2 separate regions of the Homo sapiens genome follow, and region 2 is linked to region 1. The links are contacts of gene promoters, found by promoter capture Hi-C in blood cells and fetal thymus (Javierre and others, 2016). All regions are on one chromosome and are shown on one strand. The core of a region is centred on a gene start or on the middle of the fragment in contact, and the rest is flanking DNA. Distances in the headings are between cores, read along the strand shown. Region 1 holds the start of TOMM20 (translocase of outer mitochondrial membrane 20). Region 2 overlaps GGPS1 (geranylgeranyl diphosphate synthase 1).

Evidence for each region. Contacts are between HindIII fragments. The CHiCAGO score rates a contact against its expected background, and 5 or more counts as called.
Region 2: a contact is called between a fragment that was not itself captured here and the fragment with the promoter of TOMM20 in region 1, in 1 of 17 cell types (naive CD4 T cells). The highest score is 5.3, in naive CD4 T cells.

The regions. Positions count from the first base shown.
Region 1 is chr1:235,125,866-235,131,065 of GRCh38, forward strand. It overlaps TOMM20 (translocase of outer mitochondrial membrane 20), which reads right to left and starts at 2,972. Exons shown (of 5, transcript NM_014765.3): 1 at 2,730-2,972. The coding sequence starts at 2,850. It overlaps SNORA14B (small nucleolar RNA, H/ACA box 14B), which reads right to left and starts at 2,072; the gene lies at 1,938-2,072. LOC105379283 (a long non-coding RNA gene) reads right to left here and starts at 2,336. Exons shown (of 2, transcript XR_949295.4): 1 at 1,764-2,336; 2 at 1,054-1,104. RefSeq lists enhancers at 2,700-2,919, 3,150-3,249. The HindIII fragment of the contact is 4,902 bases long and covers 1,038-5,200 here.
Region 2 is chr1:235,334,954-235,340,153 of GRCh38, forward strand. GGPS1 (geranylgeranyl diphosphate synthase 1) reads left to right here. Exons shown (of 4, transcript NM_004837.4): 2 at 289-381. The coding sequence starts at 312. Among named protein-coding and RNA genes, the nearest start is that of GGPS1, 9.0 kb to the left of the region's middle. The HindIII fragment of the contact is 7,848 bases long and covers 1-5,200 here.

The DNA.
Region 1 (5,200 bases), core at 1,722-4,221:
CAGTCTCCCAAGTAGCTGGGACTACAGGTGCGTGCCACCACGCCCAGCTAATTTTTTTTTTTTTGTATTTTTAGTAGAGACGGGGTTTCACCATGTTGACCAGGCTGGTCTCGATCTCCTGACCTCATGATCTTCCCACCTTGGCCTCCCAAAGTGCTGGGATTACAGGCGTGAGTCACTGCGCCTGGTCGATAGATTAGATTAGATAGATAGATAGATAGATAAAGATAGATAGATATAGATATAAATATATATAAAGACACACACACACACACACGTATATTTTGGAGACAGAGTCTTGCTCTGTCCCCCCAGGATGGAGTGCAGTGGTGCAGTCTCTGCTCACTGCAACCTCCACCTTCCACATTCCAGCAATTCTGCCTCAGCCTCCCAAGCAGCTGGGACTACCGGCGTGCACCACCACACCCGGCTAATTTTTGTATTTTTAGCAGAGTGGGGGTTTCACCATGCTGGCCAGGCTGCTTGAACTCCTGACATGAGGTGATCCGCCCACCTCGGCCTCCCAAAGTGCTGAGATTACTAGCGTTGAGCCACCACACCCAGCCTCAATTACCTGTGAACAGACTGCAAGATTATTCTAAATAAATTTTACAAAAACATCAAACAACAAAATATTTCTACTCATAAAAATATCTCATCCGGACGCGGTGGCTCACGCCTGTAATCCCAGCACTTTGGGAGGCTGAGACGGGCAGATCATGAAGTCAGGAGTTCGAGACCAACCTGGCCAATATGGTGAAACCCTGTCTCTACTAAAAATACAAAAATTAGCCTGGCATGGTGGTGTGCGCCTGTAATCCCAGCTACTCAGGAGGCTGAGGCAGAATTGCTTGAACCCGGGAGGCGGAGGTTGCAATGATCCGAGATCACCCCACTGCACTCGAGCCTGGGCGACAGAGCGAGACTCAAACAAACAAACAACAACAACAAAAAATCTCTAGCATTCATCAATTACCATGTGTGAGGAACAGGACTAAAACTCTACACTATACCATTTTACAAAAAGGGAAAACTAAAGCTTGAAGTTACTTGCCTAAAGTTACTGCTGCAGCTAAGTAATTCACTGTAATCATTAGGTTGCCGCTAAATCCAGAAAAAACAATTTTAGATTGAAAATGATGGAGAAGTTATTTTGAAATAACATTCCTCCATTTGTCTAAAATGATAGCTCTTGTTTCTGCAACAGGACTTCAGGGTTTCCAACGGAAGATAGGGTTAATCCATTCTTTATAACTCTGCATTTGTACCAAAGCCCCCAGCTGTCACCCATTTTGGCAACTACAGGACAATAACCCGAAGGCAGAATGACCACCAGCATTTATGGAGGAGCATTTCCTATGTCAGAAAACGTGGAAGGCAATTCAAACATCTCAACCTTCACAAGATCAACAAGAGGTAGGTGGCATTACCTGATTTTACAACTACAGAAATTAGGATTCAGAAACCCCAAATTATGCCGCTAACCTGGCCCTAGAAATTCAAGGTCTGAATGTAAAACAGTATTCTATTAGTCTGCCTAGTCATAAATCAAATTATGTCTATATCCCTTCCCTCCTAAAACATAAGAAAGCTGGAACTAGATGTCTGATTCTTAGTGCTAGTAAGATCAGCGCTGCAGTCACTGCTCACACAGGGCTACTGAACACTTGAAATGACTTAGTATAGCTGAATTAAACCGTAACCACTGTTACTTAAGTAAACAATAATCCCTTCTTTGTACCCCTTGGGCTTTAGTAACTTACGTATCAATTTTAATTCCAAAAACTAATTTGGCTGAACAACCAAGATAAGCCAAAAAATATTTCTTATTGCAACAAATTTGCTCTTCAATGATGCGAATGAAGATTCTCCGAAAATTCAAGGTGGATCACAACGGTTTTCATGACACGATTCCCCTCTGGTAGACCTCTCTTAAAAGATGTCGCAGGTATGAAATAAGACTGAGCCACGGGAGAAGCGCAGCCCTTTGGACTCCCCTGCAATTTCTATAGCATTCACTCATATCTTGGAAGCACTTAGAACGAAGCTACCAAGAGGGTTTAAGAATGCAGCAATGAGCCAGGCGGATCATCTGAGGTCAGGAGTTCGAGACTAGCCTGACCAACACGGTGAAACCCCGTCTCTACTAAACACAAAAAATCACCGGGCGTGGTGACGCCCGACTGTAATCCCAGCTACTGGGGAGACTGAGGCAGGAGAAGCGCTTGAACTCGGGAGGCGGAGGTTGCAGTGAGCCGAGATCGCGCCACTGCACTACAGCCTGGGCGACAGAGCGAGATTCCGTCTCAAAAAAAAGAATGCAACAATGATACTGCACTGAGCATGCGGATTTAGCCTCAGACTAAAATTTGCGACAAAAATGCACGACTTTTTAGTTAAGAGTAGAGGTTTAAAAAGATGAACGACAAAAAAAGAGACAACCTCCTCCCCAGGCCACACACACCCGAGATTGCAACAGAAATCAAGAGTGCATTTGCACGGCTAAAGTGTCTGGGGAAAACAAAACGGGAAAAATCCTTCCTCCAAAATGGAATTCCTACGGGGCACTAGAGCCCCCGGAGCGGCGCAGCCAGCGCCATCGCCTATTGAGGGCCGCACCACGCGGTCGCCCTGCGCGGCCCACAGGCTGGTGGGAGGCAATGACCCCTCCTGTGAAGGGCGGCGGCCGAAGGCAGCAAGCCTGGCCAGGGGAGAGAGGACCCACTCACGTTCTCGAAGCCTGTTCTTGAAGTTGGGGTCACTTCGTCTTTTGCGGTCGAAGTAGATGCAGTACCCAATGAAAAGGGCCCCGCATACACCGGCGGCGATGGCGCTGTTCCGACCCACCATCTTCTCTACAACGCTGAGCGTGGACGGTGGCGGCAGGGACCGCGAAGGAGCGGTGGGCCACGAACCCTCAGAGCGGTCGGCGCAGCTCACACCCGACGGCCGCGGGCCAGGAACACAGAAAGGCCGAGCACACGCCACTTCCGGTCCCAGTCAACTAAGGGCCTCGAGGTCGTCCGCGGCAGAGCCTGAGCAGAGGCCCAGAGCGCGGCTCCTGCGCCTGCGCAGTGGGCGAAGCCGGCGTTTCCCCTGCGCCGCTGGGTGTACGCACTGGAGTCGGGAATTTGCACGTGACCACGGACTTTTTTTCATATCCGCCGACCATGCTGTAACGAGGCGTACGCGTTACTGGCGTGCACGTACTCAGAAGACTAGCTGACAGCCTTGTTTGTGGCAGACAGAGATGCAGGGTCCCAGACTGCGAATGCTTCATCTTGTCTAACACAGGCAGCCTGTGACTTGTTTGAATTAAACTGTACTTTCTTTTCAGGTTGCCACAATCCATTGTGCGTAGTGGTTCCATTTCAAAAGAATGTTACAGGATAGCCTCATTTTATGATAACTGGAATAAAATTAAATGGAGTAATTTCTTGAAAAATATACACAATTGAAGAAAAAATAGAAAACGTGAATTGTTTTATAGCCACACGAAAACATACACATGATCAGGCCAGGCGCGGTGGCTCACGCCTGTAATCTCAACACTTTGGGAGGCCGAGGCAGGCGGATCACTTAAGGCCAGGAGTTTGAGACCAGCCTGGCCAACATAGTGAAACCCTGTCTCTACTAAAAATACAAAAATTAGCTGGCCATGGTGGCCGGGGCCTGTAATCCCAGCTACTCTGGAGGCTGAGGCGGGAGAATCGCTTGAACCAGGAGGCAGAGGTTGCAGTGAGCCAAGATCGAGCCACTGCACTCCAGCCTGAGTGACAGATCAGGAGTCCGTCTCAAAAAAACAAAATATATATATATATGATCTAACTTAAGATATTGACAAGGAAAATCGTGGGCAGAAAGCAGGCATTAAACAGACACTGTAAGTTGAGGGGTATCGAAGTCAAGCATCAGTGTCAAGAGACATTGGAACCAGAGCTACCTTACCTTGAATAGGGGCTGGGTAAAATGAGGCTGAGACCTATTGGGGCACATTCCCAGGAAGTTTGGCATTCTTGGTCACAGGATATTTACAGGGAAGGGAACAAGTTAATAATGTTTACCTAACAGACCCAGGAAATGTCCTGATGTCCTGATATCTTAAGAACAAAAGCATTCTTAGTTTAATTTTCCCTTTAAAGATAATATTGATCCTTGCAGAAGACAGTAGTTACACAGGATTAACAGTCCTTTGACAAAGACCAGGCAGTGTCTCACACCTGTAATCCCAGCACTTTGGGAGGCCCAGATGGGCGGATAGCTTGAGCCCAAGAGTTCAACACCAGCCTGGGCAACATGGTGAGACCCTGTCTCCACAAAAAAATTAAAAACTTAGCCAGGCGTGGTGGCACACACCTGTGGTCCCAACTACATGGGGAATGATGCGGAAGTATCCCTTAATCCCAGGAGGTTGAGGCTGCAGTTGAGTTATGATTGTACCACTGCAGTCCAAACTGGGTGACAGGGTAAGACCTCGTCTCAAAACAAACACACAAAAAATCCTTTGTCACAAGCTCTTGGAGTAGAGCTCATCTTCCTCATTTTTTTGCTGTTCAATACAAACAAGCCTTGTACCTAAGGTGGACATGTTCCTTCTCTTGCTTTAGGGTATGCACCATTCTACAAAGTAACCTTTCACTTTTTTTTTTTTTTTTTTTTTTTTTTGAGACAGTCTTGCTGTCACCCAGGCTGGAGTGCAGTGGCATGATCTTGGCTCACTATAACCTCCACCTCCTGGGTTCAAGCGATTCTCCTGCCTCAGCCTCCCCAGTAGCTCGGATTACAGGCATGTGCCACCACACCCAGCAAATTTTTGTATTTTTAGTAGAGATGGGGTTTCACCATGTTGGCCAGGCTAGTCTCAAACTCCTGACATCTGGTGATCCACCCACCTCGGCCTCCCGAAGTGCTGGGATTACAGGCATGAGCCACCGTGAGTGATCTTCTTTATTTTCTTAATAAACTTGTTTTCACTTTACTCTGTGGACTGGCCCCAAATTCTTTCTTAGGCAAGATCCAAGAACCCTTTGTTGGGGTCTGGATCTGGATCCTTTTCCAGTAACACGAGGTTGCATAATAAAGAATTTGGCTGGCCTTTGTCCCCAGTTCCTGGGAGTTCTAGCCCCTTGGAATTGATGAGTGATTCACTCCTGTAATCCTAGCACTTTGGGAGGCCAAGGTGGGAGGATCACTTGAGTCC
Region 2 (5,200 bases), core at 2,080-4,579, 210 kb after region 1:
ACCTCATGATCTACCCACCTCAGCTAATTTTTCATATTTTTAGTAGAGACAAGGTTTTGCCATGTTGCCCAGGCTGGTCTCGAACTCCTGGGCTTAAGCTATCCGCCCGCCTCAGCCTCCCAAAGTGCTGGGATTACAGGCGTGAACTACCGTGCCCAGCAACAGAATCTTCTTTTTAAACCAGACTAGGTGTCTTTTCACAAACACCCTGCAATACAAATTCCTTTGCAGTTTGACACTGAAAGATGATTAGTTTCATGTGATCTTTATGTTTCTCCTTTTTGACAGATTAGCTTTGAAGTTTAAATCCAATGGAGAAGACTCAAGAAACAGTCCAAAGAATTCTTCTAGAACCCTATAAATACTTACTTCAGTTACCAGGTAATACTTCACTTACAGTCCATATAGGGTCATTTTCATGCAGTAGTGGTCGTTCAAATGTTAGCAAATAGAAAAGGTTAGACTTGCTAGCCGTTGAGATTTTCTATTTAAGGTGATGCGTATGAGAAAAATGATAAATAGAACATTATAATTTTTTCTTTATTAAAAGGTAATTTTTGCCAGGTGCAGTGATACATACCTGTTGTCCCACCTACTTGGGAGGCTGAGGCAGGAGGATGGCTTGAGCCCAGGAGTTTAAGGCTATAGTGCACAATGATCACACCTGTGAATAGCCACTACACTCCAGCTTGGGCAACATAGTGAGACCCCGTCTCTTAAAAAGAAACGTAATTTTTGAAGGCACCCTTTAAAACATATCCAATTATTTAACATATCTTGAAAAATAAAAATACTTAAAACATTTTGGTATCTCATTGGAGGTTGTACTCTTTACGGATATTACGCATTCAGATTCCCCACTGTTTAGATATTAGGGGAAGTTACGCAGATTTGTTTAACAGTAGAACACTTTATTTACCATACATGTTCAAGTTTACCTTCTATGTCTGTATTTTCCAGTATCTCACACATACACTGCATTTCATATACTACTGGTTCCTTTGAGAGCCAAATAATAATGTATCTAAAATCACAGTATTTGGAAATATAGCCCACTTTATTCCTGTATAAGGGTATGCCACCTTGGACATGGCTTCCTACCTCACGTGTACGTGTGTGTTTTTGTTTTATTTTGCTTCTTTAAAAACTTGTCTGGAGGCTGGGCGTGGTGGCTCACGCCTGTAATCCCAGCACTTTTTGAGGCCAAGGCGGGCGGATCATGAGGTCAAGAGGTTGAGACCAGCCTGGCCAACATGGTAAAACCCCGTCTCTACTAAAAACACAAAAGTTAGCTGGGCATGGTGGCGCATGCCTGTAGTCCCAGCTACTCGGGAGGCTGAGGCAGGAGAATCACCTGAACCTGGAAGGCAGAGGTTGCAGTGAGCTGAGATTGCATCACTGCACTCCAGCCTGGCAACAGAATGAGACTCCGACTCAAAAAAAAAGAAGAACTTGTCTGGAAATGATAATAAGCAAAAACTCATGAATATAATAAACAGGGGTTATTGTAATAAAAAATCATTTGTATTAGAATATTCTTTCTCATAGACATAATATAGGCCAGGTGTGGTGGCCCACACCTGTATTCCCAGCACTTTGGGAAGCCAAGGCAGGATTGCTTGAGACCAAAAGTTTGAGACCACCTTGGGCAACATAACAAGTCCCCCTCTCTGTTTTAAACATTTTTTAAAAAAGAAGAAATAATATAAAAGTTGGTAAATTATTTGACAAGCATAAAAACCTATTTAGCCATACTGTGACTAAACTCTAATGATGCTCTCAATTCAGTCTCAATAGACACTTTTAAATTTCCGTGCTAAAGTACACACCTTTCTTTATGAGCACTTCTCTGTGGTAATATGTGCATTTCTGTTCTTCATGAGCCTGGGAAGGATAAAAGCCAAAAGAATGCTTGCTCCTGTGCTACACCTTGGAAACCATAATTAGTGTCATTTTTATTTTGGCCGACCCTAATAGAGACTCGCCTGCTAATGTCAATGCATGAGAAGAATGAGGGAATGACAGAAATGGAGAATTCAAAGGGAAGGTTGCCCACTGTTTAAGAAAAAGCCAAGAGACTGCTTTTGAGTGACATTTATCCAGCAGTTAGTAACTTATTTCAGTATCTCCCAGTGAGAAACATGGCACAGTTTCACTTTCACTCTACCCAGCTCTTACTGCCAGACATCCTTTAGAACACGCTCACAAACACTAGCTGGAACTGGGCTGGCATTAATAGCAAGCCAGTTATCAGTGCTGACAAAAGTCTAACAAGCATCGCTTGAATGTCTCTTACTCTGCTACTTACAAAGCAAGGACTGCCTACAGTTACATTTTAACCATAATGCTTACTTATGCTGTGACCACCTTCTGTGACTTCCTTTTTTTTAATTCTCATTACTTGGAAATAATGTTTTAAGACATTAGATAACATATTTAAAATTATCACTAGGTACCTCACCTTTTTATTCAAGTACGTTCTTGATCCATGATGGAATACAACCTCAAAAGATACTACTAAAGAAATATGACATTGCACTATGCACATAACACACTTATTTTTTTACAGAGAGCTTCAGAGTTACTAAAGTAACTTAGAGGTGTGCCAGGTCATTTATACTGTTGTAATATTACTCTTGCTAATAAATAATAATAATGCTATCAGTATTTTCTGAAGTCAACCTGGCCAACATGGTGAAACCCTGTATCTACTAAAAATACAAATATTAGCCAAGTATGGTAGCGCATGCCTGTAGTCCCAGCTGAGGCACGGGAGTCACAGGAGCCTAGGAGGCAGAGGTTGCAGTGAGCCGAGATCACGCCACTGCACTCCAGCCTGGGCAACAGAGTGAGACACTGTCTCAAAAAAAAAAAAGGATTTTCTGAAATTAGTAAAGAAAATTATTTTTATTTTTAAATTTCTCATACTTGCTGTCATCTTATGTTTATGTTTGTTTATTTGCCTTAGTGTGGGGCCCTAGATGAGGTGAAGGGTGGGATTAGGGAGAGATGAAGCTGGCAGTGGAGGAAGAAGGGCTCCAAAAAGAGAGACAATAATGTTTAGATCTTAAAGAGGAAGCAGTAATCTTTTAATTTTGAGAGATCTCTGTGATTAGCCTCAGTACTAGAAATTATTTTGGAACTCAGCCAGGCGCGGTGGCTCACATCTGTACTCCCAGCACTTTGGGAGACCGAAGTGGGCAGATGGCTTAAGCCCAGGAGTTCAAGACCAGCCTGGGCAACATGGCAAAACCCTGTCTCTACTAAAAATACAAAAAATTAGCCAGGCATGTGATACGCCCTTGTAGTCCCAGCTTACCTGGGGGACTGAGGTGGGATGATTACCGGAGCCTGGGAGGTTGAGGCTGCAGTAAGCCAAGATCACACCACTGCACCCCAGCCTGGGTGATTAAGGGAGACCCCGTCTCAGAAAAAAAAAAGGGGGGGAAACTTAAAAGCATCAGGCTAAACACTAGCATGTCATCAGAGGGGAAAAAAATATTAAAACTGTAGTACCTCAAAAATAAGCCATATATTGTACTGTTTTCTATATAACATTCAAAAGTAAAATGAAAAATGAAATTTCACATTGAGACTCTGTTTTTCATCTTCAAAAAAATGTGTTTAAGTGATACAGGCCAAGTGCAGTGGCTGACTTATTATCCCAGCACTTTGGGAGGCCAAGTGGGACAGATTGCTTTTGAGCCCAGGGGTTTGAGACCAGCCTGGGCAACAGGGCGAAACCCTGCCTCTACAAAAAATAAATAAATAAAAATAAAATTAGCCAGGCATGGTGGCTTGTTCTTGTAGTCCCAGCTACTCAGGGGACTTGAGCCTAGGAGGTCAAGGCTGCAGTAGGCCGTGATTGTGCCACTGCACTCCAGCCTGGGTGACAGAGCGAGACCCTGTCTCAAAAATAATAATAATAGGCCGGGCGTGGTGGGTCACACCTGTAATCCCAGCACTTCGAGAGGCCAAAGCATGTGGACGACTTGAGGTCAGGAGTTCGAGACCAGCCTGGCCAACATGGGGAAACCCTGTCTCTATTAAAAGTACAAAAAATTGGCCGGGCGCGGTAGCTCACGCATGTAATCCCTACACTTTGGGAGGCTGAGGTGGGTGGATCACCTGAGGTCAGGAATTCAAGACCAGCCTGGCCAACATGATGAAACCGTCTCTACTAAAAATACAAAAAATTAGCTGGATTTAGTGGCGCACGACTGTAATCCCAGCTACTCAGGAGGCTGAGGCAGGAGAATCGCTTGAACCTAGGAGGTGGAGGTTGCAGTGAGCCAAGATCGTGACACTGTACCCCAGCCTGGGCAACAAGAGCAAAACTCGATCTCAGAAAAAAAATACAAAAAATTAGCTAGGCGTAGTGACGCACACCTGTAATCCCAGCTACTCGGGAGGCTGAGACAGGAGAATCCCTTGAACCCAGGAGGCGAAGGTTGTGGTGAGCCGAGCCAAGATCGTGCCATTGCTTTCCAGCCTAGGTGACAGAGCAAAACTTCATCTCCACAAACAAACAAACAAACAAAAAAACCCATAATCCCAGCATTTTGGGAGGCCAACACAGGTGAATTACCTGAGGTCAGGAGTTTGACACCAGCCTGGCCAACATAGTGAAACCCTGTCTCTACTAAAATTACAAAAATTAGCCAGGTGTGGTGGCAGGTGCCTGTAATCCCAGCTACTTGGGAGGCTGAGGCAGGAGAATCGCTTGAACCCAGGGGGCGGAGGTTGCAGTGAGCCGAGATCACACCATTGCACTCTAGCCTGGGTGACAAGAGCGAAATTCCATCTCCAAAAAAAAAAAAAGAAAACAGTATTTTAGTTTTAACTTTTTATGTAACCATTTTCCTGAAACCTTATCTAAAATTAGGATGTTATTACCATGCATTCATTTAGCAGAAAACTTATAGAACATTTTTACTAAGTGAACTGGCCATGGTTTTTATCTATCATTCCTTTGTATGTGACTACAATGACTTCTAGTGGTAACTTCTATCCAAAGACCTATCTTAAATTAGCCACGCATGGTGGCACATGCGTGTAATCCCAGCTACTCAGGAGGCTGAGGCAGGAGAATAGCTTGATCTTGGGAGGCGGAGGTTGCAAGTGAGCCGAGATCACGCCGCTGCAATCCAGCCTGGGCAACAGAATGAGACTCCGTCTCAAAAACAAAAAACAAAAAGAC